Linked DNA regions of Homo sapiens: region 2 is linked to region 1. The links are contacts of gene promoters, found by promoter capture Hi-C in blood cells and fetal thymus (Javierre and others, 2016). All regions are on one chromosome and are shown on one strand. The core of a region is centred on a gene start or on the middle of the fragment in contact, and the rest is flanking DNA. Distances in the headings are between cores, read along the strand shown.

Evidence for each region. The method cuts DNA at HindIII sites, captures the fragments that hold promoters and counts their contacts. A CHiCAGO score of 5 or more calls a contact.
Region 2: a fragment that was not itself captured here is called in contact with the fragment with the promoter of USP44 in region 1 in 9 of 17 cell types (total CD4 T cells, non-activated CD4 T cells, erythroblasts and 6 more); the score reaches 10.1 in total CD4 T cells.

The regions. Positions count from the first base shown.
Region 1 is chr12:95,549,984-95,552,881 of GRCh38, forward strand. USP44 (ubiquitin specific peptidase 44) reads right to left here and starts at 1,493. Exons shown (of 6, transcript NM_032147.5): 1 at 1,289-1,493. The HindIII fragment of the contact is 4,508 bases long and covers 1,205-2,898 here.
Region 2 is chr12:95,120,259-95,123,018 of GRCh38, forward strand. The region is part of intron 8 of FGD6 (FYVE, RhoGEF and PH domain containing 6); the gene reads right to left. Among named protein-coding and RNA genes, the nearest start is that of NR2C1, 48 kb to the left of the region's middle. The HindIII fragment of the contact is 9,066 bases long and covers 1-2,760 here.

The sequences.
Region 1 (2,898 bases), core at 243-2,742:
GCCTGGCCAACATAGTGAAACCCTGTCTCTACTAAAAATACAAAAATTATCCGGGCCTGGTGGCGGGCACCTGTAATCCCAGCTACTCGGTAGGCTGAGACAGGACAATCGCTTGAACCCAGGAGGCGGAGGTTGTGGTGAGCCTAGATCCACAATTGCACTCAAGCCTGGGCAGCAACAAGAGCGAAACTCCGTCTCAGAAAAAAAAAAAAAAAAAAAAAATCTGATATAACACAGGAAGTTCTTATGTTAACAAAATAGATACAAAATAGCAACAATGTCTAATCAATTCATGTTTGAAAAAAATACCAAATATGTACATTAAGGTTACAACTGCATAAAATGTAGTCATGCAAATAAAGATTAAAGGGATGAATTTGCATAGTTTAATACTCATTTTGTTCTTTTTTCTATATATTTAAGTGCATAATAATTCTGATTCAATAATGACCCCAGTGCACTTCTCCCACTCAAAACATCTAACCTCTATGTTGTACTTTTGCCCACCACCTGAATTTCTCAAATGCATTAAAAGCATTACATGAGGGCATCTCTTAAGATGAAATATTTAAAATTTAAGTATTTCTGGCATGCAATATGGTTTTTCCTGTAATTCCTTGAAAGCAAAATATTAATAATAGAAAAATCAAAACTCTTGCTTTCCTATTATAATGCCATAAAACCATTCTGGAAGGTCGTTTGGGAGATAGGAAGAGTCTTAGTTGCCTCCCTCTGATCTAGTAATTGGGCGGGGTCTTTTAAGGACTAAAATGATGTGAATAAATGAAGAGAAAAAGTGAAATGGGAAGAAAAGCAAAGGCAAGCTGTGTAAGGCATAGGTGGAGAGTGCTGAATAGTGTCTTCAATAAAATGCCTTAATACAATGATGTAAGCTAGGAAGAGGTGCGGAGTGGGAAGGGAAGAGGCTGGAGACAAATTCTCATTACTAGTGTTAGTAATTAAAGAGCAGATGTTTGTAGTTTAGCTTTTTCTTCATACTTATTACTACTTATTCAACTTTGAAATTTCCTCAGCTACCATTTTATTCATGATCTTCACTATCTAGGCCTAAATTATAGCATGCTCTAGCTCATTTCCTGAGCTCCAGAACCTCTCTATTGCAATTTTATTTTTACATAGCAATCATAGTCATTCTTCTCCTTAAATTTTCCTATTTGTTTTTTAACCCGTCTCATCGAATCTAAGCTTTTTACTGTAACATTAAAAAAAAGAAAAGAAAAAAGCCTCCTTCCCTGCCCACCTTCATCAATGATGTCCCCAAACTTACCTATTAAAACCTCAAAATCAGTCTTTCCCCAGGTCGGCCTTTGGATAACTCAGAGGTCAGTCCCTGCAGGATCGCCCAGTTTCCATCAGGGCAAATGCTGATCTCCTAAGTGAAAAGTCCTGGCGGCTGCCTCCAGTGCCCCCCTGCAAATCATTACAAATCAACCTCTTTCAGGTTTGGCTTAAACTCTCACCTCCTGGAAACTGCTTTCCTGAAGTCACAAACCGGGCGTGCAGATCCCCATCCCCCACCCCCAGCAGTGCATTATTATGCAGTCACTGCTTTTGTTCCGAGTTCTGAGCCTGCTTCTATTTGCATCGTAACCTCTTTGGGGGCCGGGACTGTGCACTTGCTCCCTTTCTATACCTCTCCACAGTTCCTAGTACCGGCCAAAAACACTGCTGAAATGCCTAATGAATCAACCAGAAGTTCCTTAGCATAATATAGGAGCGTGGAAGTGATGTTTAGGGGGGCTTCCCTTGCTTCCCTGATCCCCAGATGGAGAGAAATGGCAATTTGCCCTTCCAAGGTAAGCAGTTTCCTAAACCAGATAAAATTTTAACGATTCTGAAACCTAATGGATGTGTAACTACTCAATTCTGAGTTACTACACAAACAGTTTTGCCCTTTGTATCCTGAGAGAAAAGTACGAATGAATTAAAAGAAGACAAAACATTGTAAATTTCATAAACCTCAGAGTGGCTTTTTATGCTTTATGTCGATTTTTAGAATTTCCTAGTCCAGTCTTTCATGAATCGAAGAATATTTCAGGAATCATAATTGCAGACTAAAGAATTTATGAGCTTGTGAAATTTTAGGAATCACTTTTAAGACTTTTCAGAGTTTTACAGACAATGCTCTTACCTAATAACTAATATTCGCTTAACATTTTTTTCAACACCTAAATGCCTGGCACCATGCTAAGCATTGAGATATTCATAGCATTCATTTCAATGGTTATGAGGAGATGAAGGATTGAGCAGAGGAAGTGGGTAAAGAAACGCTAAATAACTCAGCCATAAACTTTTGATTAAGGTGTAGCAACACACTTCAGTTGAACTTTTTAAATGAGAGGAACCCAAACGACCTTAAATTTCTGGCAAATATGAAAGAAAGGAGTTGAGAAAAAAGGAGTATGGAAAAAAGAGCAGCAGATGTAAGCTATGGCCTTAGTGGAGGAAAGTGAGTAGAAGGGGCTTTAGAATTCGCCTTTTTTCTTTAATTCTAAGAATGAGGTTGGTAGCAGGTAAGGAAGGTAAATGCCAGCTGAGTAGATGGTACCAAAGTTGATTTGTTTTTAAAAGACCATTGTTTATTTGGTGGTCTGTCAGGGAAACTTGTACCTTGCAGGTGAATTTCCAACATAGGCCTACTGGAAACTGAAACCCTGAGCCCCAGGGTTTAGGTATAAATGGAAGCAAAATTGTGAAGTGAGTCCATTTCTCCCCCTTTTTAAACATAAACATCCACTCCACCTCCACCCTATACTCAGTTTTTCTTTTCTTTTCTTTTCTTTTTTTTTTTTTTTTTGAGACAGAGTCTCGCTCTGTCACCCAGGTTGGAGTGCCGTGGCGTGATCTCGGCTCACTGCAACCTCCGCCTCCCGGGTT
Region 2 (2,760 bases), core at 104-2,603, 430 kb before region 1:
AAATAAATAAAGCATGCCTTCTTCCATATTTCAGATTCTTTTCTTGGGATCAGGGAGAATAATTTATTTATTTATTTATTTATTTTTTATTTTTTTTGCTTCATGATTTGTGATATAGAAAAAAATTAAAGTTAAAAAAAATTTTAGGCTGGGCATGGTGGTTCATGTCTGTAATCCCAGCACTTTGGGAGGGTGAAGGAGGTGGATCACCTGAGGTCAGGAGTTCAAGACCAGCCTGGCCAACATAGCGAAACCCTGTCTCTACTAAAAATACAAAATTAGTAGGGCATGGTGGTGTGCGCCTATAGTCCCAGCTACTCGGGAGGCTGAGGCAAGGAGAATTGCTTAAACTCCGGAGGCAGAGGTTGCAGTGAGCCGAGATCGCACCACTGCACTCTAGCCTGGGTGACAGAGTGAAACTCCACCTCAAAAATAAAATGAAATAAAATAAAATATTAAATTATTTTTGGGTGCTTGATACATATCACAAAAAACCTTTCCTAAAGGGATGTGAAACTTTTAATACAAATATATGAGAATAACAGTTTCAGTAAATGCCAATTTTGTGTGCTGCAGTTTTTTATTGCTAATAGAATTGGTAACTGTTTTATTTGATAGTTATCATTCGAAGGACACAATACACCACTATATATTTATTATGTGCTCTTTTTTTCTAAGTTATTATATTTGTTCATATTTTTAGTCTAGATGTCTATTTTTAGTATTTGTGCTGAAATGAAAATTTCCTAGAGGTATATTTTCTGATGTGCTGTTTGCCTTTTTACTTTGACTGTATTTTAAACTTTTATAATATTTTAATGTTATTATAATGGTGCAAATGTGCCTCAAAAAATAAAATAAATAAAATGAAATGAAAAGTGTCAATATTTTCATTTACAGGCTGGCTGCTGTGGCTCACCCCTGTAATCCCAGCACTTTGGGAGGCCGAAGCGGGCAGATCACTTGAGGTCAGTTGTTTGAGACCAGACTGGCCAACATGGTGAAACCCTGTCTCTACTGAAAATACAAAAAATTAGCCGGGCATGGCGGCAGGCACCTGTAATCCCAGCTACTAGGGAGGCTGAGGCCGGAGAATCACTTGAACCCCTTGAACCCAGGAGGTGGAGGTTGCAGTGAGCTGAGTTCACATCATTGCACTCCAGCCTGGGTAATAAGAGTAAAATTCCGTCTCAAAAAAAAAAAAAGATATATATATATATATGTATATATATATATATATATATTCCTTTATAATTAATTTTTCTGGGCCTACAAAACTATCTTTCATCCTGTCCTCATTTTAGAGTTTCAATAAATAGCCAGTTTTATAATTCTTCATATTTAGCTCTGATTTTATTTGTAGTATATGTATTAATGTAGGAACCTTAATTTGTTTTTCAAATTATTATTATTTTTGAGATGGAGTCTCTCCTGTTGCCCAGGCTGGAATGCAGTGGCATGATCTTGGCTCACTGCAATCTCCGCCTCCTGGGTTCAAGGGATTCTCCTGCCTCAGCCTCCCCAGTAGCTGGGACGACAGATGTGTGTCACAACGCCCAGCTAATTTTTGTACTTTTAGTAGAAATGAGGTTGTACCATGTCGGCCAGGCTGGTTATTTTTCAAATTATTAATAGGTTATTTAATAAACAATCTTTTTTCTATTGTCTTGGGTTTCCTACTTTGTCATACATTAGATTCTTATAAACAGTCCATTTCAAGTTACTTCCTTATTACATAAGGAATAATTCCTTTTATAAAAAAATTAATAGATCTATTCTTGCAATGCTATTGTGTAACTTTAATTGTTGATGCCTTAGAATATGTATGCACTGGCATTTGCCTCCCAGAATATTATTTAACAATGTACATATCCTATTTATTTCTATACACAAAATCATTTTGACAAGTAACAATAAAACTCCAAAATTCTAAGTTAAGTTTAATGAGAATATGTAATGTCATGAATATATTAGAAGCTAAGTAAATGGTACTATAATATAAGGTATCATTTTATGCACAAATGCTAAAACTGTGGCCTTCCTGAGGACAGAAAGCCTGATTTTAATTATTGTTGTAGCCCCTGCACCTAGAAGAAGATCTGCTATGCCAGGCACAGTGGCTTGCACCTGTCATCCCAGCACTTTGGGAGGCTGAGGCAGTTGGATCACCTGAGGACAGGAGTTTGAGACCAGCCTAGCCAACATGGTGAAACCCCGTCTCTACTAAAAATACAAAAATTAGCCGGGCGTGGTGGCTCATGTCTGTAATTCCAGCTACTCGGGAGGCTCAGGTGCGAGAACTGCTTGAATCCAGGAGGCAGAGGTTGCAGTGAGCTGAGATTGCACCATTGCACTCTAGCCTGGGCAACAGAGCGAGACTCAGTCTCAAAAAAAAAAAAAAAAAAAAAAAAGGCTCTGGCCTTTGGCTCTAATTCTTCTGCTTCTCAAATACTCATTCAATTCTAGTCCTTGAATCTGTATGTGGCCTAGAACCACCTCTTATAGATGTGGTGCTTGCCTAAGTTAGAAAGTGTCATCTCGGGAGGGGCACAGTGGCTCATGCCTGTAATCCCAGCACTTTGGGAGGCCAAGGTGGGCAGATCACATGAGGTCAGGAATTCGAGACCAGCCTGGCCAACATGGTGAAACCTCGTCCCTAATAAAAATACAAAAATTAGCTGGGCATGGTGGTGCATGCCTCCAGTCCCAGCTTCTTGGGAGGCTAAGGTAGGAGAATCACTTGAACCTGGGAAGTGGAGG